6 separate regions of the Homo sapiens genome follow, and all the other regions are linked to region 3. The links are contacts of gene promoters, found by promoter capture Hi-C in blood cells and fetal thymus (Javierre and others, 2016). All regions are on one chromosome and are shown on one strand. The core of a region is centred on a gene start or on the middle of the fragment in contact, and the rest is flanking DNA. Distances in the headings are between cores, read along the strand shown. Region 1 overlaps ECHDC1 (ethylmalonyl-CoA decarboxylase 1). Region 2 has its middle 6.0 kb from the start of ECHDC1. Region 3 holds the start of HEY2 (hes related family bHLH transcription factor with YRPW motif 2). Region 4 overlaps RSPO3 (R-spondin 3). Region 5 holds the start of LOC105377994 (a long non-coding RNA gene). Region 6 overlaps MTCL3 (MTCL family member 3).

Region 1 (3,729 bases), core at 751-3,250, 1.6 Mb after region 3:
TATGTTTAAAATAATGTCTATATCAGAGAATCCTTTATAAATAAGGTATACAGTCATGCACTGAATAACAACATTTTAGTCAGCAATGGACTGTATGACAATGATCCCATAAGATTATAATGGGGCTGAAAAATTTCTATAGCCTGGTGACATCATCGCCATTGTAATGTCATAGAACAATGCTTTACTCACATTTTTGTGGTGATGCTGTTAAAAACAAACTTACTGCACTGCTACCTGTACAGAAGTATAGCACATACAATTATGTATGTTACATAATACTTGATAATAATAAATGACCATGTTAATGGTTCGGGTATTTACTGTACTATATTTTTTTTTTTTTTGAGAAAGGGTCTCACTCTGTCCCGCAGGCTGGAGTGCAGTGGTGCCATAATGGCTCAATGCAGCCTTGACCTCCTGGCCTCAAGCGATCCTCCTGCCTCATCCTCCCTCAGGAATGGGACTACAGGCGTGTGCCACCATGCCTGGCTATTTTTTTTATTTTTTGTGTCTCACTATGTTGCCCAGGCTGGTCTCCAACTCCTGAGCTCAAGCAATCCTCCTGCCTTGGCCTTCCAAAATGCTGGGATTGCAGGCATAAGCCACCACAGCTGACCTATACTTTTTATGTTATTTTAGAGTGTTATTTTACTTTTATATGTAGAAAATTAAATGTAAAATAGCCTCAGGCAGGTCCTTCAGGAGGAATTCCAGAAGACAGCATTATTATCATAGGAGATCACAGCTCCATGCATGTTACTGCCCCTGAAGATGTTCCAGTGGGGTAAGATGTGGAGGGGTAGGACAATGATATATGTGGAGGGGTAGGACAATGATATGGATGATCCTGACTCTATGTAGGCCTAGGCTAATGTGTGTGTTTGTCTTAGCTTTTAATAAAAAAAAAAAAAAACTTTTAAAAAAGATGAATAAAATAAAAATAGAAAAAGCTTATAGAATAAGGATATAAAAAAAGAAAATACTTTCGTTCAGCTGTAAAATGTGTTTGTGTTTTACATGAAGTGCTATTACAAAAGAATAAAAAAGTTTTTTAAAATTAAAAAGCTTATATAGTACAAAAGTTACAGTTAATACTGTCTTCTGGAATTTCTTCTGAAGGACCTGCCTGAGGCTGTTTACATTTAATTTTTTATGTGTAAAAGTAAAAGGAGTACATTCTAAGTGTACAGTAATGTCCTAGGCCTTCACATTCACTTGCCACTCACTCACTCACTTACCCAGAGAGACTTTCAGTCCTGCAAGCTCGATTCACCATAAATACCCTATATGAGCATTCAATTTTTTATCTTTTATACAGTATTTTTACTGTACCTTTTCATTTAGATACACAAATACTTACCATTGTGTTACAACTGCCTATAGTATTCAATACAGTAACAGGCTTTACAGGTTTGTAGCCTAGGAGCAATAAGCTATACCATATAGCCGAGGTATGTAGTAAGCTGCACCCTAGATGGTATCATTAGGTTTGTTTAGCTACATACTATGATGTCTGCACAACAACAAAATCACGTAATGACACATTTGTCATAATGTGTTCCTATCATTAAGCAATACATGACTGTATGTGGGTACTATTACTGTTTTCTAAAAAGCATCTAAGCAAGCATTTAAAAAAATAAAAATACAGTTTACAAAATTAACTTAGAGTAACAAAGTTAGCACTTTTCACTGGCAATCAAACAGAAATATAAAAGTTAGCAACAAATCTGACAATTAAATTCCCTATGCCAAGCCCATACGTGGTAGGTAGATTGGCCCCGAAGAGATGACCTAATCTCTGGCAACTGTGCATGTGTTACCATACATGGCAAAAGAGACTGCAGATGTAACTAAAGTTAAATCCTTAAAATAGGAAAATTATCCTGGATTAACTGAGTGGACCCAATCTAATCATGAGAACACTTAAAAGCAGAGAAATGTTTCCAGCTGTAGTCAGAGAAATGCAGCATAAGGATAAATAAGAGAGATTCAAAGTATGAGAGGAACTTGACTCACCACTGCTGGAGGAGCCACATGGAAAGCATGAGAAAGAATTCAGAAAGCATCTAGGAGCAAAGACTCATCCCCCATCTGGCAGCAAGGAAACAGGGACTTCAGTCCTTCAAGTGCATGTAACCAAATTCTACCAGTTGGAACCTGGGTGAGCCTGGGAATGAATCCTCCCCTAGAGTCTTCAGAGCCCACTGCAACTGACACTTAGATTTTGGTCTCATGAGACAAGGTTTAGAAAAACCAGCTGAGCCCAGCTAGACTTCAGACCTATACATCTGTGAGATAATAACGTGTTGTTTTAAGCCACAGAATTTGTGGTAGTTTGTTATAGCAGCAATAGAAAACTACATGTATTAGCATTTTCTTAATTTATATTTCATTCTAAATATCTTTAATTTGTCAAGGTGGATTAAAAAATGAGAGGCTATATTACCACATTTCTAGCTTTTCATTTCCTCACATTAATTTTGTCACTAAAATGGAAACATAATGCTTGACTAGATTCTGACCATTGAAAAATACCAATTTTTAATTCATGTTAGTCTTTTACTTTTAAAAATGTTTTTTAAAAGCCATTTTCTCTTGGAATATTTTACATGAAAAGTATGACTCAAGTGAGGGTCTATCTATGCAAAGTAGAACTGAGTGTTTCCGACATACGTATACATTACATCTATTACCAGCTGGTGCTCACAGGGTTTTGCGGGAAGGGGACAGTGTTAGAATGCTACATGAGTTCATTTCTTTTATATATTCATATTAAGTGTATCTCCATCTGCTGAAGTACTTCCATTGGCATGGATGAAAATGTCAGTTGAGTGAATTCCAGGCAATTCTCCAAGGTAAGAAAGTTAAACAAGCGAAAAGGGCCAACACATATAAAGAAGGAACTTATCTTTTTAGCAAACGCTATGAAAGCTTTCGGTGTTTTTTTAGAACAAGCAGACATTCTTAGGAAATAATTAAAATAATCTGTCATAGAAAGTAACTGATGAGGTACTGATAAAATTAAGTGGAAAAAATCAGCTAGAGGAACTTGTACTGATTTATCACTTCCTGGAAACTGGGGCTAGTAATGTAGTTCATTCAGTATGCAATCCTCTCTATTAGCCTCTAACATTTAAGAACTATAGTTGCTTTTGGTATGCGGGTTTTAAAAGGGCTGAGTAGCCTAGGACAGTGCTTGTCAAATTTCTCTGGTCAAGGATCAATTTCTTCTTCATTTTTAAAGAAACTTTCTAATCGATTGCAGACCAATAATTTTGTAAAATATAACAAAAACATATTACTAGAAAAATGAAACAAAAAACCAAGACACAAGGTTTGTGAATGGCTGTGCCTAGCACATGTGGGTGCTGAAATATGTTTAATAAACAGACACCACTTTCAGAAAAGCTGGTTCAAAAATGGATAGGTTTTCATCAGAAGCTTCTCAACAAAAGCACCTGGTATATCCAGATACTGAGAGTAGGCAGTACCCTCAGACATCTTGTAACAAATAAAATTAAATATTTAATGAAGCTCTAGGATGCATTACATTTTCTTCAATTAGAGAATGACAGCTAGGCAATTTAGCAGTATTAAAGGATTAAATAATCTCTGATTATTTTTCCTGCTATTGTGCTTTTTTGTCCTAAACCCTAACTACACTTAAACATAGATGAGAAATCAATATGAAGAATAGTACAAAAGTCTAATAAAGGTGAACAC
Region 2 (3,553 bases), core at 402-2,901, 1.6 Mb after region 3:
TCTAGGTATGAGAAAGAAATATCAAAATGTTATACCACAATGTATATCATTTATTGTTGCATTATATTCTATCATGATAATTTTTATTAATGTAAGCTTATTGAGTTCAAATGCCTTGTTAGCCTTATTTTTCCTCCTTCCCATCCTTTCTTTTTTTCCTCCTCGGTTCTTTCCTCTCTTTATTTCTTTTGAGAATGTAGTTAAATTTTTTTCTTAAAAAATGCCATAGAAAAAAATACTAGAATGAATATCTCATGCTGTTAATAGTTATCAGTAGTAACTTGGGGGAATGTAGTGTTTGTTTTGTTAGTTAAATATACTTGGTTTTCAGATTTCTCAAAATGAATGAGAACACTTAATAACATGGTAAAATGTTGAAACTATAGTATTACTTTCAAAAAGGCTATCTAGAATGGAAGAAGGGTGATGTCAGAAAGATGGCAGTATAGCACTTCCCAGTACTTGTCCCTTCACAGAAACATCTATTTGAACCACTATCCTTTTTTTTTTTTGAGACAGAGTCTTGCTCTTGTTGCCCAGGCTGGAGTGCAATGGCGCAATCTTGGCTCACTGCAACCTCCGCCTCCTGGGTTCAAGCAACTCTGCCTCAGCCTCTTGAGTAGCTGGAATCACAGGCACACGCTACCACGCCGGCCAATTTTTGTACTTTTAGTAGAAACGGGGTTTTGTCATGTTGGCCAAGCTTGTCTTGAACTCCTGGCCTCAGGTGATCCACGTGCCTCAGCCTCCCAAAGTGCTGGGATTACAAGCGTGAGCCACCACGCCCGGCCTGAACCACTATCCTTTTATGAAGACACCTTCACATGAACTGAGGAATCCAGATGAGAAATTATAGCACCTAGATGTAGCAGAGAATTAAGAAAAGACACATTGAAGATAGTAGGAAAGAGTCAATCCTTTCCCAAGCCTGGGTAGCACAGAGCTGAGACTTATGGTCCGTGTGAGGAAAGGAGAGTGAGGTAAGTGCCAGCTTTGCTGCAGACTCCAGCACCAGGCCTGCCACAGTGAAACTTGGCACCAGGCTGACTACCATGGCCCTAGACTCTAGGCTGATACCCATGCACTGAGACTACAAGATCACCCCAATGCTAGGCTAATCTCCATGGCGCCTAGATCTATGCCCACTCCATTCCCCATGTTAGTCCCCATAGTTTCAGGCACCAGGCTCCAACACCAGGTTGGGCCCTACAGCCCCAGTCTCCAGGTTGGCACCAGTGGATATAGGCTTTAGGTCCACTGACTGCTGGTCCCTACAGCCCCAGGTTCCAGTGAACCCAGGTTCCAGGCCTGCTCCAACAAACCCAAGGTCCAGGTCTACCCCAGTAGACCCTGGCACCAGAACTACCCCAGAGGGCCTAGCCTACAAGCTACCACCCACAAACCCAGCCTCCATGATGGCCTCTGAAGAATCAGGCTTTAGGTCTTCCCCAGCACCAGACTAGACTGCTAGACTGATGTTCCACTTTTGTCCCCATGGACCCAGGCACCAGGCCCATCTCAGTACTAGGCAGGCCCCTGTCCTGTGAACACAGGCTCCAAGCCAGACCCTGTGGACCTAGATGCCTAGCACACCCACCTACCTATCTGGTCACCAGCCCTGTCTATCTGAGGGCACCAGCAGCAAGGCCACCCATAAAGCCCACAGATGACCTACCCAAAGTCTTGATAGGGTGATGTGAGCAGCATTCCCTGCTGAATCCAGTCTATAAAGACTGGAATGAGTGCCCGCATTTCAATAATGCAAGGAAGAGGAATAATCAGGGAAACATGATACTACCAAAGGACCAAACACCAGTAAACAACCCTAAAGAAATGAAGATCTATGAATATCCTGAAAAAGAATTTGAAATAATTCTTAGAAAAGCTCAGTGACTGCCGGGCGTGGTGGCTCACATCTGTAATCCCAGCACTTTGGGAGGCCGAGGCAGGTGTATCACAAGGTCAGGAGATCAACACCAGCCTGGCTAACACAGTGAAACCCTGTTTCTACTAAAAATACAAACAACAACAACAAAAAATTAGCCAGGCATGGTGGCACATGCCTGTAGTCCCAGCTACCTGGGAGGCTGAGGCAGGAGAATCACTTGAACCTGGAAGGCAGAGGTTGCAGTGAGCTGAGATTGCACCACTGCACTCCAGCCTGGGCAACAGAGTGAGATTCTCAGAAAAAAAAGAAAAAAAGAAGAAAAGAAAAGCTCAGTGACCTACAAGAGAGCTCAAATAGGCAGCTAAATAATATTAGGAAAACAGTAAACAGACAAAATTAGAAATTTGACAAAGAGATAGAAACCATAAAAAGAACTAGGAAAATTCCGAAGCTAAAAAACACAATGACTGAACTGAAAAATTCCACAGAGAGCTCCAACAACAAAATCAAGCAGAAGAAAGTATCCGTTAACCTAAAAATAGGTCATTTAAAATTGCCCAGTAAGAGGAGAAAAAAGAAAAGAAAAAGAATAAAAAAGAGTAAAGAATATCTGTAAGACTTAAGGGTCACCATCAAGTGAACTAATTAATGCACTATGGAAGCTCCAGAAGGGGCAGAGAAAGGGAAAGGGGCAGAAAAACATAATGACAGAAAGCTTTCCAAATCTGAAGAGGGAACTAAACATCCAGACCCATGAAAGCCAAAAAATCCTAAATAGATTAAATACAAAGAGATCTTCACCAAGACACACTGAAATTAAATTTTCTAAAGTCAAAGACAAAGAAATGCAAAAGCTGCAAGAGAAGAGCAACTTCTATAAGGCTATTAACAGATTTCTCAGCAGAGACCTCGCAGGCCAAGAGAGAATGGCCTGCAAGGTGCTGAAAGAAATAAACTGCCAATGAGGACTACTATACCTGGCAAGGCTGTCCTTCAGAAATGAAGGACAAATAGGGAGTTTCCCAGACATAACAAAAGGTATTCTTACCCATAGACCTGCCTTACATGAAATGCTAAAGGGTGTTCTTCAGGTTGAAAGGGCCCTAAAAAACAATATGAAAACACAGGAAAGTATAAAACTCAGTGTAAAAGTAAGAACATAGTTAAATTCAGAATACTCTAATTCTATAACAGTGATGCATAAGTCACTTTTAACTCTAGTGTAAAATTAAAAGAAAAGTAATTATAATAATTTGTTCATGGAAACACAATATATAAAAGTTGTAAATTGTGACACCAATAGCATAAGATGTAGGAGAAGTTAAAGTGTATACTTTTGTATGCAGAAAAAGTTAAATTGTTCGAGCTTAAAATAGACTTATAACTATGATCTTTCGTGTAAGTCTCATGATAACTCCAAAGTAAAAAACTGTAATAGATACACAAAATATGAAGAAAAAGAAAAGCAGTCTACCATATAAAAAAAATAAATAAATTATATAGGAAGGGCCAGGTGCGGTGGCTCAACGCCTGTAATCTCAGCACTTTGGGAGGCCGAGGCGGGTGGATCACCTGAGATCAGGAGTTCGAGACCAACCTGGCCCACATGGTGAAACCCCACCTTTACTAAAACTACAAAAATTAGCCAGGCATGGTGTCATGTGC
Region 3 (3,403 bases), core at 504-3,003:
CCCAGCCATCCGCCCTGAGGCCGACAGGGGAGCTGGGGTTCACCGACCCCCGCGGCCCCGCCGTCGGGCGCGGACCCCATCCAGCCCCACCTGGCCCCGCCGAGTGTGTGCTTTGCCTGGGGTTAAGTTTCAGAAGCCAAGATGGAACGATTCGGGTTTCTATTCACAAGGTTATTGAAGGCATGGCGGTGGGGACCGCGCAAAAGAGATGAGAGTGTGGGGGGAAAGGGGTTTCTGTTCTAATAAGGGCTTAGCACGCTGGCCGCAGGTCCTCCGCGCCGACCGGGCTCCTTCCCGCTCTCCCCCGGGCCAAACCCCGCCAGGGTCCCGTCTTTCCCAGTCGCGTCCTTTCCTCTTCTCCCCGCCCCGCGCCGGGCTTGTGTGGACAGAGAACGGAGTGTCAAAGGGACGCCCTGGGCCGATCCCCAGGAAGCTATGAATCCCTCCGTGACGGAGGGGTCTGGGGATCGATAGACGGCCCTTTCTCAGAGGCTCTCTCCACTACTGACCAAGCGGCCCTGCCAACGTGTGGTTTCCGGCTGGACCCCAACCCAGCCGCCGCCAGTCTCCCGGCGCCCCTGGCTGGGTCTCGCTCAGTCCCTGCCCTCGCAGACGCACAGCGGGGTGGCCAGTTCAAAAGTCCTACATAACTTGGAGAGAACCAGCAGCTAGAAAACCTGTTTTAAACACACAGCTTGAGTTTTATACAACCCACGTTGTCCAAGGCACGAACTGTTGGACACGAATTCATACTTTAGAAACCAAATCTAATTTCCAAGCGCCAATCTTCACCTCCCGGACTCTAACTCTGCGGCTGCGAGTGCATACACCAGGGGGACTGGAGGAGACTGGAGGCAATTATCTGGATAATCCAAGCCCGAAAAACTCGAACTTGAAAATATACGATTATGTCCTGAAATGCCCGCGTCATTGATCTAGTCTTTCCTACCATCAGAGCTGACACAGCTCCAGTCCACGGGCTTCTCCGCGGGGTCTAGGATCCACAGTCCCTGGGGGCTGAAGACCCAATGGAAGTAACTGATGGATCGCAAATTGGAAATCGTAACGTGGCCGACAGACCTGATCAGGAAAACTCGCGTCCTTATATGAAACAGCCCCGAGGCCGCGAAAGTAGCCTCAGGAGTTGTCAGATTCAAAAGCAATTTTGATTTAAGGTTTTCAAAAGCCCCAGAGGGCAAATGTGACCACTCGGGTCAGCCAGTCAGCAGTTTGGATCCAGACAGGGGACCACCGAGTGGGGCGGCCGAGGAGCCGCGGCGCCTCCCGACGTCACACGCGCCTGCTCGCACTTAGCCACGCGCTTGGGGTTATTCTTTACACTCAGGACTGAAACTTCGCCCGCGAGACCGCGGGGCGCGGAGGAGGGCCGAAACCCAAGGTCCAGGTCCAGGGCCCGCCCCCGCGCGCCCGCGTTGGCGCCCGCGCGCTCCCTCCGCAGGGGTTAGCAAGATTGCGCTCATTCTCGCCCCGGCTGCTCCCCACCCGCTCGCTGCTCTGGGGTACCAGGTCCGCGGCCGCGTTCCCACGCCTCGGCTGGAGCCTTGCGGCGGGCATTGGCGAGCGCGGCCCCGCCCCCTGGCCCAGCCAATCGCGAGCCACGCCGACCAGCGAGGGGGAGGTGCCGGGCGGAAGGCCTGGGCCGGTGCGCGGGGGCGGGTGAGGTGGCCCCACCCGCTCGAGGGGGGGGCGTGGCCGGCGCCGGCTCTTGCGGCCGAGCAGAGTTGCGGCGTGGGAAAGAGCCGCTAGGAGCAGACCGCGCCGCCGCCGGAGCCGCGCCTGCCCAGGCCCGGGGAGGGAGGAGGCGGGCGTCAGGGTGCTGCGCCCCGCTCGGCGTCCGAGCTTCCGGCCGGGCTGTGCCCCGCGCGGTCTTCGCCGGGATGAAGCGCCCCTGCGAGGAGACGACCTCCGAGAGCGACATGGACGAGACCATCGACGTGGGGAGCGAGAACAATTACTCGGGGTGAGCGCGGGCTCCGCGGGAGCGGCCCGCAGCTCGGGAGCTTGGGGTAGCTTTGTGAATGCGTGGCTCCCTGGAAATCCCGAGGCTGGTCTCCGCAGCATCTAGGTAGAGAGGGAAAGTTTGGCCTGAGAAAGTTTGAGTGGTGGGCGCTCGCAGAGCGTGAGTTGGGATGGGGCAAGGGATGTGGATTTTCACCGTAGGGGTGGAGTAGCCAGGATGGGAGACGCCACTGAAAGGCAGAGCGCAGGAGTTGGCGAGGGAGGGTCCTGGCTGTCACAGTTGGACGCGCGAACGGCAGCGTCTGGGCGACAGGCGATGTCCCAGCCACTGAAACCGTATTTGGGGGCACTTTCAAAATAGATCAGGAGAAAATAAAAACAATTTGATTTTTGATTTTTAGAGATACCAAAATCACAACTTGATTTTTGGAGGAATTAAAGCAACCTGCGATGTCAAGGCTACGTAGGTTGAACTTTGCAGGTTGACCGTGTGTGACTTGGCTAACGCAAGAGTGAGTGACAGATGTAAGCATCGGAAAGGGCATCATTTCTTTGACTGCTTGTTCTCAAGTCTGGAAGAGATCGGCGTCGTAATCACAGAAGCCAGACCTCCACTTTCCTGTGACAGAGGGAGATTACCGAGGCATTTTAGAGCCAAGGCGGGTCAAATGATAATTGCTTCTAATTGGCATCCCCAGAAGCACCTTAATTATTTATCTGCAGCTGTCACTCAAAGAGGGAAATTCTTCCTACCTTTGGAAAACTGGTTTTCTTTCATATTGTTATTCTAATACATACAAAGCAAAGCACAAAATCTGCAAGAGCAAAGATATTTACACGAAAGCAAAGGTTTAAGTATCTGATCATTAAAGTGTTGTTGTGCCGTCTTTAAAAATGAGGTCTGAAAAACAGAAGCTATCACGTGAAAGGTGAAACCCGTAAAGAAGGGGTGAAAATGAGGGGGACAGGTAATTCAGAAATAAGATCCAGAAGTGAGAAGGTGAGGTAATAGCAACCTGGTGTGTGCAGCATTTCTAAAATGAAAGAGAACAAATAACAGGAACCTGGGGAATTTGAGAACACAAAGAAGCATAGTATCCATGAATTATGAAGAGAAACAGATACAAACTAGAAAGGATTGTAAAAATTATGTGACCAAATAATACTTTGATTGAACCTTCAATATAAAAATATATTTTCATTAGTAAATCCAAGGTGCATTGCAGCTTCTGGAGATTTAAGCTTAGCCTAAAGTCTGAGACACACCTACAGTTTCATTTTCAAAGTAAAACATTCACCTAGTAATAAAATGAGTTTTAATTTTCCTATCAGTGGCATATTTAGGGCATATTTTTGGAAGATTAGTATGCAAAACATCAAGTTTGTCAATTTTTTCCTGTTGCAATATATGACTAACTGAAGT
Region 4 (3,636 bases), core at 697-3,196, 1.4 Mb after region 3:
AGGCCTGGGGTTCAGCGGTGTCCACGCGCCTGGCGGTCCCCGCCTCCTCTCCTCCCAGGGTCTGGCCTGGGGAATTGAGTCTCAGGGTCAGTGGGCATAGGGAGCCCGGGCTGGAGCGCAACCCACTCTGCTTTCCATCCGCTCTTCCAGCCCGTGCCCATTGGGCGTCCCAGAGCACGCTCTCTCCTTTACCCCCACCGAGGACCCCCGGGCTGGGAGCCACACACTTGTCAAGGAGGGACAGGGTACTGAGTGTCAGAGGCGTCTCGCTTTGCAGTTTTGGGGCCCCTGATTCTGAAGGAAGACACAGGAAAGAAAGCTTGTAGTCCTTTTGTGCCCACCTCCCCCAGCGAGGACCACGGCGCAGGAAGCTTTCCCCGGGCGCTGCCTCAGGGAGCTGTGGGATGATGCACCTCTAGGTTGGGCCGAGAGGAGTCAAAAGGCAAACTGCTTTTCGACCTGCCTTAATCATCTCAAGGCCAAGTCAAAGGAGACCTCTGTTTGTGTTGAGGGGATGAAAGAAGGAATAGTGGAACTGGGTTGCAATTCCAATTTTTCTGTGGGAGTGGGACTGGGAGACAGCACCCACAGCGATGCTCTTGCTCCTTCGCACTTGAGTCTGCGTTTGCGGCTTGGTTTGCTGGTGCAATCCTGGTAGAGGGGCGACCCCTTGCGTCCTCGGAGGAGACAGACTAGACTCTTGGCAGGTGCAGTATGACTTAAGGAGGAAGGAGTGGAGGGTAGAGAGGTCCTCTTTAAATGCCCAGAAACTCAAGGTCAAACTGCATGTGCACAAACTCAGATATACCGTTTGTTTTGAAATCTCTGGGGGAAAAAAACGAACAAAAAGATTCAATTCACAGTTCCTGTTTCTCAAGTAAGGACTAGGAAAAGTTTTTAAAATGAAAACATGTGGTCAAACGTGTTTTCAAAAGAGGCTGGCTATCCTAATTGTTTCTTCAAGAGACAATTAAGTGAATATTTAAGGAGTCTTCTGGCCTGTAGTTATATAGTTTCAATTTCCTAAGCTTAAAATCATCAATAAAGATATGACAGGTAGAAAATTAGGTGTTAAAAACTTCTACAAAAAATTTAATGGTCTCTCTTGATTTAGTAGGAAACTTTTTTGTAAACAAGAACATTCATTTGAAGTGTTAAATATTGTCATGTCCAAAGAATCATGCATTATCCTCAGAAATAGCAAATAAAGCCATATCAGTATTCTCCTGTTTCCCTAAAACAACTGTAATTCCATTTGTCTCTACTTTGATATAAACTAGTGATCCTAGTTATTACAAACTAGTGTTTCTTCTCATAAAAGAAACAATGTTTTAAGACAAGACCCTTGTACTTTAAAATGTCTATTTAGTTATGGGTGAATAAATACACAATAAATTTTTATCTATTTGAATTGGTATACAGCTCTTAAAAATGACTCAACCTTTGAATTCCAGATTGTGTGCTAATAACATTAAGAAGCACTTTTTTTTTGCCATAATGATAGCCACAGAATCTTAGTGGGGCCTCACATTTTCACGTGGATTAGTTGCTTGGGCCCTGAAATAGCCACTGAAGTGAAGAAGCAGGTACTTATCTTCCCATCTTAGAAAGAAAAGGCCTGAGAACTAGAGGCTCAGTAACCTACATAATGCCATATATCTAGCAAGTGGAACTTGTCTCCTGCCATGAATCTCACAGTTATGTACACCTTTATTCTATATTCTGGTCATAGAGAAGATATCAGGTTTATTAAGTAATAAATTAGATGGTCTCAAGGCCATCATTTATTCAATAGGTTTAGAGAATAAACTGTTCTCCTTGACTGGAAATTTTTGAACTCATTATTTTATATAATGGTGATCAATGTCAAAGAATTAAATACCTAATAGTAAAGTTTTCTAAACGGAATATATCATTTGATTATCTAGGAGATACTATGGGATTATTCTGTGCCAGAAGGTTATTGTTAGAAACATCAGATGGCATTTAGCATCCTTTTTATTTGATGCCATCTAGTAGCTCGGTTTTAATTGTTCAGACTCTAGATAAATGCAAGTTTTGAAAAGCCATTATATGCATAATAATTTAAAAGCACTCATTGCACAATCTATAAAACTTCGCAAGTCTTTCATAAAGACGTCTGAAGAAAGAGAGAAAGAATAAAAAGGAAATAATTTTCATGGTAATAAAATAAAAACAGACTATTGGAATGTACTGGTCATTGCTCATGACATTGTTTCAGATGTTGAGCCAGTCTTTGAAATTATGACACACCCTTTGTGATTATGTTGTGAATCCTGGAAAATAACAAGTTAACTGATAAAATAGAAAAATCTTTAATTCTACTATACATTTTGTAATATTAATTTCAAATGAAAGTTTGGTTTGGATATTGACTACAATGTATTTTTCACACTTGTCTACGTTTCTCACCAGTCTGCCTTATTTTTGAGAGTAACAGTGTTTTAAAGATACAGACACGAATAGAATTTGCTGAAGAAAGTGTATTCTTTGATACGTCGTGTAACAGCTGTATAAATCAAGACAAATGCAAATTCATATGCGGTAGTGGCAACATCTAAATGCAAGGAAAAACATCTTTGTGAACTCAAATTTAATCATCATTACATTATCAGGGTTGTTTCTCAAAATATCCCATGGTGACACTATTTTAATTCCGTTTATTACTTTAATAGAAGGATTTTAACAAGAACGTTAGAAATGGTAATTTTAAAATACCTTCTTTTTAGCCCCAAGTTACTCAAGTAATGAGAATGTAAGAATGAGTATGAAACTGATTTAATGTTGTTATTTCAATATTCCTTTAAACATGAAATATGAAGAGTATTTGAACTTGCAAATAGATAAGCTTTACTAAGTCATTTCTCCATTAAATAATTCCCTGGCATTTAATATTGTACAAATTAGGTCCCCAGAAAGCAATGAATGGAAATTACAACGTGTAGTAAAATTTTATTTTCCAGTTATTATGGGGAAACCCTTGCTGCATTGCTCCAAAATGAATTTATTAGACATCTGATTATTTTAGATTATTTGAATCTGGACAGAGATCTCCAGATTGCTACTAAATGTCTAAAATATTTTCTAGTTCAATGGTTAATCTTTTTTTAGTTGTAATAATTCTTTTGAATCCTATGCAATGTTGGCAGAGTACTATGTAGAGTTTTCAGAGCCCTATGTAGAGTTAAGACCAAAATACACCTCTGCAATTATAAGAATGAGCTATGAAAAAATAAAACTATTCTAGATATACTGATTTGCCAAATTGTCTTTTCCCCTTTGTCTCCATCCCAATGTTTCATTTTGGACATATCTTGATCTCTCTCTTCCTACTTCTTCACTATTCACTCACATATCCCATCCCCACCCCAAAAAAATTATTTTCCAAGTAGTGAATTCTTGAAATGCCATCAGAGTGGATATTGTGTTTCATGAAATGTAAGAAAAAACTTTGGTTACCATTAGGAAAACATCATTCAGTTTTAAGAGCACAGTAAGGATCATGCAAGACAGTGTGTTGAAATTATGTTTGACTTGGTTAGGACTATTTCTTCTAACAGTGCATTATGTGCTGGCATTTTTTTTTTGAAAATAATAATTTGAAAAAATGTTGCA
Region 5 (3,489 bases), core at 796-3,295, 1.6 Mb after region 3:
TTTTTAATTTCAATATTCATTTACAAATGTTATTTTTTAAAAAATCTTAAAATGCAGTGGAAACAAAATTATTGCACTGTCTTCATAAAAACAAACACACATCAAAGGATAGCAGAAGCTTGAACCTTTACATCATGAGAAGAAAAACAGTGTAATACTAAACATACAATAGTTCACAATAAATGCCACATAAGTTCATTAAAATACCTCCCTGAATCATTATATATTTTTAAGCTATAGCCATATTGTAACTTACTCCCAAATAAATGGATGCTTTTGTCTAATTTACAGCTCCTGGAACTTCTCAGCAGCTGGCTCTTCAGAATAATTCCATGTGATATTATCTTTGTCCATTTTTGTTGGTATCAGGTTAAAAGTTGGAAAATCAAGGCTATTTCCAAAGGTTGGAAATGTGTTACAGAAGATAGGGCTCCAAAACTGTGTTATGAAGTTTCCTTCAAAAATCTACTCATTGTTGCCTGAAATAATCCACAGACTAATCCTATATAAAGGCATGATTTTGCAGTAAAAATAAATCTTTTACCTTTCCTGTTTGCAAAGACCCACTTTGCAGGGGTGTGTGAATACAAGGTAAATCTAAAATGTTTTCCAAGATGGAATTTTTGTAGGTTCTGACCTACAATGCAAAGGTGCAGGTCTAAAGTAATTGAAAATTTCCTAATATACACTGCTCCCATGTAGAAAGGATTATTTAAAAAAATAATAACTTCAGATTTATCTATGAAAAAGTCAAATGCAATAGGAAAAGGAGGTGAATAGGGTTTAAACAATGAAGATACTATTTTAGAATAGTAATGTTATGATTCTATTACTCTCTCTAGACTCTCAGATACAATAGGTACCAAAAATACAGTAATGTCCAATTAATAACCTTGCTTAAATAAGAATTTCCTTACTTTTCATAATTTTAAATTTGTCTACATTCGGAATGTGAAAGTAGAAAGCTAATCAACCAAAACATGTCAGTTTGTAACCTCAAACATACCTTGATAGGCCAAGAAGAATTTTTCCTCTTTGCTTCTTTACCTAGGTGCAAAGTCAATTCATATTCCTCAGAAAGCTGTAAAAACTTTCCAATCCATAGTTCTTTTTCTCATCTCCTCTGGATACAGACCACTTCACCACACATTCTACTAATTTGGAATATTAGGTAAACTTTATGTGTCATGTCTTGATCAGTGTCTTTATTATTCTGCTCTAATACCAGTATTTAACTTTCCCAGTATCTATTCCTAAATACAGCTAGTTATATAAGCTCTTTAGGGGATATGTCTTAAATTTTTCTTATCTTTCATTTCTCTTATTTTTAAAATACATATGTATATACTTCATTAACATGTAATTAAATGATTATCCTCTACGGCACAAAAAAATAGTACATCATTAGAATAGATGTAATTTGAAAATTAGCTATTATTTCTTAACTAGTACAAATAATGGAATAGCAAAAAGCTATTTTTGGTCTTTTAGAAATCATATTTTAAAAAGAAGGCTGCATTACCTCATAAATCTTGTTAAGGTGTTTTGCATGAACATGCATACGGCCATTCCATCCTTTAAATAAAAATAAGCAGAAACACAAAGGTATAATGCAAATATATTACATTAAATTTTTTAAATTAAGGTTTTAGAAAGTAATGAAGCCAAAAATATGTCTTTTTTAAACAATGACATTTCCATTTAAAACTCTTTGATGTTGTCTGAAATGCAAATAATGCTGTATTTGACTGTTGATATCCTAGGGCTCCTTGAGCTCAGCTTTGCATGAGGTATTAGCAAAGATGTAGGGATAAGAGACAGATCACATACCCTAGATCACTATGGAGTTCTACTCAGGGTAATGACAGGGGAAAGGCATAAGATATACCCATCTGTTATCCTTAAGATGATAAACATATAAGAGAAGAAGGGAAAGAAGGGAAAAGTTATGTTAAGCTTTGATTTTTAAAAAAATATTTCTAAGGCTTTATCTTGGTATTGCCACAACTTATAATTTTCACAAACAAATTTCCTAAGAGTAGTCCAAACTCATTGCCTTGTCTTTTTTTTAGCTCACATACTTTCTTCAATCCAGTGTAATCTGGCCCTCTGCCTTATCCCAAAATCTCTCCTCAAAAGCTTTTAATAATCTCCTACTTGTCAAATTAAATGACTTTTCCTTATTCACCTTTTCTCTCTCCATAACACGTAGTATCTTTCTTTAATCAGTTTCTTCATTCTCATATTTGCTCTCACTTTCTAGCAACATTTACACACCTGGTTCTCTTATTTCTTTGTTTGTTCTTTTCCAGTCTTCTTCCTTGGCTCTTCTTATCCAGCTAATCCCCTAAATCCATGCAGTTTCAAAATTCTAATCCATGATTTTCTCTGTTCTTTATTTATAATTTCTTTTTTTTGGAAGTCTCATCTACTTCCATATAAAGTGCTAAAATCTACTAGACATTTTCACATTCTGATAGCACCTCAAACTCAGCACGGCAAAACCAACTGAAAGTAAAAGAACTGACTTTGAATCCTAGTGCTGCCACTTAATAACAACATGAAATTGAGCAAGTCATGACTACGTAATTCAGTTTCCTCATTCATAAGAAATGAGAAATTAAAAAAAATTGCACTATTTGACTTAAAGGATGTTTAGAAAGATGAAAATATACCTAGAAACTCTATAAAAGATTGCATAAGTGTTCTGTGTTAGTGGAAAAAGTTAGTGTAAGAGTTCTGAGCTAGCGGTCAATAAGGCTCAGATTTTTGGTACTATGTTTGACTTTCCCGTTTCACAATTCTCCCACACTCAGTTAGTTACCAAGTACTTCCCCTCGGATCTACCTTAGAAATATTTCAAATATCAATCCCTTCTTTTATATTTTTGCTGCTGCTGCATTAGTTCATACCTGTGTTACTCAAGCCTTGATTAGTACAGTAAGATGGCTTTGCTTTCTCCCACCCAAGGACTAATCAGACCCAACACTGATTAACTTCTGAGATCGGCAAGATTGGGTGCATTCAGGGTGGTATGGCTGGAGACAACAGCTTTGCTTCCTAACTGATTTCTGTATTTAATTTCTTTTTCCTCTTAAATATAATCTTCCATCCTGCTACCTGATAAACCTTCCTGTAGGATGATGATGTCTTATAGAATAAAACCTAAATTTCTTGGCAAGGCCACTTGATCCCAAACTATCTTATCAACTTTATTGATTACCATACCCCTCCTCCAAGCATCCTAATTTCACCACACAAACTATTTGCCATCCCTCTAACACCTTACACTTATTGTGGCTCCTGTGTCTTTGCTTTTATCATTCCTACTAGTTGTAATAGGCTGTCCTTCTCTCTACCTATTTCAAGGAATGCCCAGATCATATAATATTTTTCCATCAAGATTTTCTAAATCTCACAATAACAATTTTCTCTTTTGTGTTTCAACAGTATTTTTATTTTTATGCCTTAATTATAGTACTTATAAAT
Region 6 (3,784 bases), core at 511-3,010, 1.8 Mb after region 3:
AAGGGCTAAAATTGTATTCCTATTGAAAGCATTAAAACCCAATATTTATATGGTGTTTACCATGTGCCAGGCATTATTCCACAAAGTATACATATAAGCCATTCACATATATCAATCGTTTAACCCTACAAAAATCCCATGGGATAGGTACTATTATTACTTCTATTTTGTAGATGAGGAAACTGAGTCTCAGAGAGGTCAAGGTCACACAGCTAATGAGTAGACACTGCTGGGCTAAGAGGCCTGGCAATCTGGCTCTAAATTTTGTTCCCTTAACTTCTGCACTACTCTGTGGTAAAAAATGTTCTATTGCATTTTATCACATGTAGAGAAATTTCACAAATTTCCTTTACTTCAGCAAAACTATGAGGTAGATGTTTCCATTATAATCTATGTTAAAGAATGAAAAATTGAAGTTTTTACAAGTAGTGGGTTGGGCTTGAATTTCAATCTTATAGCTTGAATTCCAGTTGCTTAATCTTAGGAAAGTTTTAGTCCTTGAGATTATTATTTTTTGAATGACTGTGCATTTTTGCCTCATATTTTGAGATTATCCTGGAAATTCTAGGGTTTGGAAGAAAAGTGGAGCAGACTGGTGTAGAGGCTTAGGACACAGGTTGTGATTTTGGACTGAGTGGAGAGTCAGCCTGGCACCTATTAGCTGTTTTCCAGGCCTGGGCACTTAACCTCTGTAAAAGGTGTAGCTTCTGCACCTATAAAATGGTGCCTTAATAATCCCTACATTGTAGGATTTTTTTTCCCTTGAGAATTAAATGAAATAATAATGTATGTAACAGTGTTTGCCACAGTGCTTAGTACATACTAAGCACTCGACAAAAGTTAAGAAAAAAAGTAATACGTCTTTCATAAAATGTTTACACATAGCTTTCTTTAAAACAAAGATTACACGTGATCTTTAAATCCCAATGAAGTTAATGCAATGAACGTATACTTATTTGGTTGTGCAAGGAGATTAAGTTAATGTCTAGTTTGCATAGTCAATGAATCTGCCTACAGTCAAACTGAACTGGAGACCACACCTGTCTAGAAAATGCACTTCAAGGTTGAGATTTTTCCACTGGAAGAAATTCTGAAGGAACAATTGCACTTTAAAAAAATGAGATTATTTCATTTACCTCACACCAAACAGGCTGCAAGTTGGTTATCTGTTTTTTTTTTCCCCCTCAGGGAGTCACCTAAGTGGCAAGTGCAGAAAGGAAGAAGTCCTGGAAGAAGGAAGTGGAGTGGACACTTGCTGAAAGAAATCTTAACTCTAGTATCTTCCCAGTGCAGTTCCTATTTTGGGTTTCAACTCCCCCAGAGGAGTCCTTTTAGTGCAGCTCCTGACTGCCCGATTCCACCGGACTTCTCTCAGTAGACAGACTGAAGGGCAGATCAAAGGCTAGAGCCTGCGCTCTGCCACGCCCTTGCTTCTGCCCAGAAGGGAGCCTTCTTCTCATCACCTCTTGAAGAGCCACCTTTGCTCCCAGGAGAGCACACTTAGCTCGTTTGCTGCCAGGCCCTCCACACACTCTGCACTCTTTAGAGCCACCTGCCAGTTCTCTCCCTTCTGAGACCCTAGTATTTTGTGGTTAGCGCTACGAAACTGTGTCCCTAAGGCTCCTTGCCAGTCGCCACTGAAGACTTCTCAGCCTAAAGAGCCCTTGGCCAAAGTCCCCACCCACCGCCCCTGCCGCGCGCCATTGAGCCCCCGCGCCGCAGACCTTGAGGTCCTGCTCCAGGCTGCGCAACAGCTCCCCGTCGATTTCCCCGGTCTGGGCGTAGCGGAGCCTTTTGCGCTCGGCTTTGCGGAGGCGGTACTGCAGGATCCGGCAGTTTTTGTTGGCTCTCTCCAACTCGTGGCGCATTTCCTGCAGTTGACAGGCATCCTCCTCGAAGAAAGTGTCCCTCATCTCGTCCATCTCGGTTCTCAGCTCATCGATCTCGTTCTGAGGCGGTGACAGGCCGCGTGTCAAAATCAAACTCGCTTCCAGCCCTTCCGACACACACCGTACACACCCCATTCCAATTCCAAATTCTCAGCTTTAATTGCCCTCTCTCTCCACGAGACAGGAGTGACAAGGAGCTGAGTACAGAAGAGGAAACTGGGGGAAAAAGGCCCACTTTAGGCCCTCTCTCGTTCTCTTACTCTACCTCTCTCCAGGAAGAAGTGTGACAAACCATTATAATTAGAGAAACGGAGGCCCAGATTTGAATTTAAATGAAAACCTCGCGTTACTGAGAGCAGATTCAAATTCCGGCAAGGCCTAGGAAACCCCCTCCCTCCTTTCTTGTTCTCCTCCCTCTTCAAGGCTCCCTAACAGGTTAGCAGCCTCTGATCCCTGCCGGTACACGCCCTAATCCTCCCAGGCCCACTCTTCCCATCCCCCAGCCGGGTCCCCCCACCCTCCTCACCTTGAGAGTCTCGTTTTCCTCTCGCAGCTTCTCCATCTCCTCTTGCATTTCTTCCTGCTCTTGGAGCTGCTGCGGGTGCGGCTGCGACGAAGGGGGCGCTGCCGCCTGCATGCCCCCGCCGCTCGCGCTGCCCTCTGCGCTCTGCTGGGGGCCCTCCGCCGCCGCCGCCATTGGGGAGGCGGAGGCGACGGCCAGGGTCTCGCAAACGGCAGGGGGGCCAGACACCGGGGAGCTGCGGCTACTGCTGCCGCCGCCGTTCTTAGCGTGCATCTGAGCCGCGGCCGCCGCCGCTGCCGCCCGCTCCTTCTTGAGATGGAACTGGATGAGCTCAGACTGCAGACATCCTTCTTTCCAGTAGCTCCCTCCACCACCGCTGCCGCCCCCCGCAACGCCGCTTCCGGAGTTTCTGCTGCCGGTTCCTGGGGTTTTGCCCGCAGAAGAGGAGGATGGAGAAGGGGAGGCCCCCTCCCCGCCGCTGCCGCCCCTCTGCTGAGCGCGTACGCCTTTCCCTCGCCAGCCCCTGGGCGGCGGCGGCTGCGGAGCGCCCCCCTCCCTTTCCCCGGAGCCGCCGCCGGCTCCTCCTCCTTCCCCGCCCCCTCCTCCCCCTTCTCCGAGCGGAGGGGGTTCCCCGAGTTTCGAGGGCACGGACTCTAGCTCCCGAGGCGGCTCCTCGGGCGGTCCGGGCCTCCTGCCGCCCAAAGCGGCCAGGGTCGCGGCGGGGGCCGCTTCAGCACCAGCCACAGGCTGGACAGCTCCCGGAGCGGCCCCTTTGGGCGCCAGGGGCGTCGCCTTCTCGGCCCCACCTCCGCCTCCTCGGATGCTGGCGGGCGGCCCCGTGCGGCTCCCGGTCTTGTTACCCTGCTGTTGCTGCTGCTGCAGCTGCTGCTGCCGAACAGAATTGAGTTTAGTGCCGGCCCCCACTGGGGACCGGGTGGCCGCGATTGTCTGTCGCAGCGAACTGTCCCTCGGTCTAGCGGGTGACTGAGCTCGCTGCTGCTTTCTGCTGCTGCCCTCCGGGTGCAGACGAGCCTCAGTGGCTGCAGCGGCGGGAGAAGCTGCTGCTGTGGCAGGGGCAGCGCCCCCGATTGGTGGCTGACTCATGGCTATGAACCTACCAGATGCGATTTGGAAGAGCCCATTACTAGATCATCCTCTTCCCTCTTCACCGCCGCCAACCTTCCTTCCTAAGCTGGGACAGAAACAAAAGGAGAGAAGAAGACAACATGTCTGAATTTTTGCAGAGCAAAGGGTGATATTGCTCCATTTGGATGGCGCTTAATAGAAGCTTTGACTTTAGGAATAGGATGCAGGGCTGTCTTTAGGAATAGGATGGAGGGCTGTCAATTCTCATTTTGCCCAGGGTGGCGCT

Evidence for each region. The method cuts DNA at HindIII sites, captures the fragments that hold promoters and counts their contacts. A CHiCAGO score of 5 or more calls a contact.
Region 1: a fragment that was not itself captured here is called in contact with the fragment with the promoter of HEY2 in region 3 in 1 of 17 cell types (naive B cells); the score reaches 5.6 in naive B cells.
Region 2: a contact is called between a fragment that was not itself captured here and the fragment with the promoter of HEY2 in region 3, in 1 of 17 cell types (total B cells). The highest score is 7.1, in total B cells.
Region 4: a contact is called between a fragment that was not itself captured here and the fragment with the promoter of HEY2 in region 3, in 1 of 17 cell types (total B cells). The highest score is 5.0, in total B cells.
Region 5: a fragment that was not itself captured here is called in contact with the fragment with the promoter of HEY2 in region 3 in 1 of 17 cell types (total B cells); the score reaches 9.4 in total B cells.
Region 6: a fragment that was not itself captured here is called in contact with the fragment with the promoter of HEY2 in region 3 in 2 of 17 cell types (total B cells and naive B cells); the score reaches 8.8 in total B cells.

Annotation. Positions count from the first base shown.
Region 1 is chr6:127,298,547-127,302,275 of GRCh38, forward strand. All of the region lies in intron 5 of ECHDC1 (ethylmalonyl-CoA decarboxylase 1), which reads right to left. Among named protein-coding and RNA genes, the nearest start is that of RNF146, 34 kb to the left of the region's middle. The HindIII fragment of the contact is 1,869 bases long and covers 1,067-2,935 here.
Region 2 is chr6:127,347,786-127,351,338 of GRCh38, forward strand. No RefSeq gene overlaps it. Among named protein-coding and RNA genes, the nearest start is that of ECHDC1, 6.0 kb to the left of the region's middle. The HindIII fragment of the contact is 1,900 bases long and covers 702-2,601 here.
Region 3 is chr6:125,747,879-125,751,281 of GRCh38, forward strand. HEY2 (hes related family bHLH transcription factor with YRPW motif 2) reads left to right here and starts at 1,754. Exons shown (of 5, transcript NM_012259.3): 1 at 1,754-1,981. The coding sequence starts at 1,899. HEY2-AS1 (HEY2 antisense RNA 1) reads right to left here and starts at 1,547. Exons shown (of 5, transcript NR_183491.1): 1 at 1,081-1,547. RefSeq lists silencers at 1-88, 1,263-1,972. The HindIII fragment of the contact is 5,509 bases long and covers 1-3,220 here.
Region 4 is chr6:127,120,912-127,124,547 of GRCh38, forward strand. The region is part of intron 1 of RSPO3 (R-spondin 3); the gene reads left to right. It overlaps LOC105377989 (a long non-coding RNA gene), which reads right to left. Exons shown (of 14, transcript XR_002956387.2): 4 at 1-825. Among named protein-coding and RNA genes, the nearest start is that of RSPO3, 4.1 kb to the left of the region's middle. The HindIII fragment of the contact is 1,841 bases long and covers 1,027-2,867 here.
Region 5 is chr6:127,314,928-127,318,416 of GRCh38, forward strand. ECHDC1 (ethylmalonyl-CoA decarboxylase 1) reads right to left here. Exons shown (of 6, transcript NM_001002030.2): 4 at 1,523-1,575. It overlaps LOC105377994 (a long non-coding RNA gene), which reads left to right and starts at 2,058. Exons shown (of 4, transcript XR_001744334.2): 1 at 2,058-3,489. It also overlaps the pseudogene RNA5SP217. The HindIII fragment of the contact is 183 bases long and covers 1,955-2,137 here.
Region 6 is chr6:127,513,099-127,516,882 of GRCh38, forward strand. MTCL3 (MTCL family member 3) reads right to left here. Exons shown (of 7, transcript NM_001400265.1): 2 at 2,416-3,604; 3 at 1,725-1,949. The coding sequence starts at 3,516. SOGA3-KIAA0408 (SOGA3-KIAA0408 readthrough) reads right to left here. Exons shown (of 13, transcript NR_174482.1): 2 at 2,416-3,604; 3 at 1,725-1,949. It overlaps LOC107986642 (a long non-coding RNA gene), which reads left to right. Exons shown (of 2, transcript XR_001744337.2): 2 at 1,189-2,202. Among named protein-coding and RNA genes, the nearest start is that of MTCL3, 4.3 kb to the right of the region's middle. RefSeq lists an enhancer at 1,709-2,233 and a silencer at 2,921-3,150. The HindIII fragment of the contact is 3,876 bases long and covers 1-3,698 here.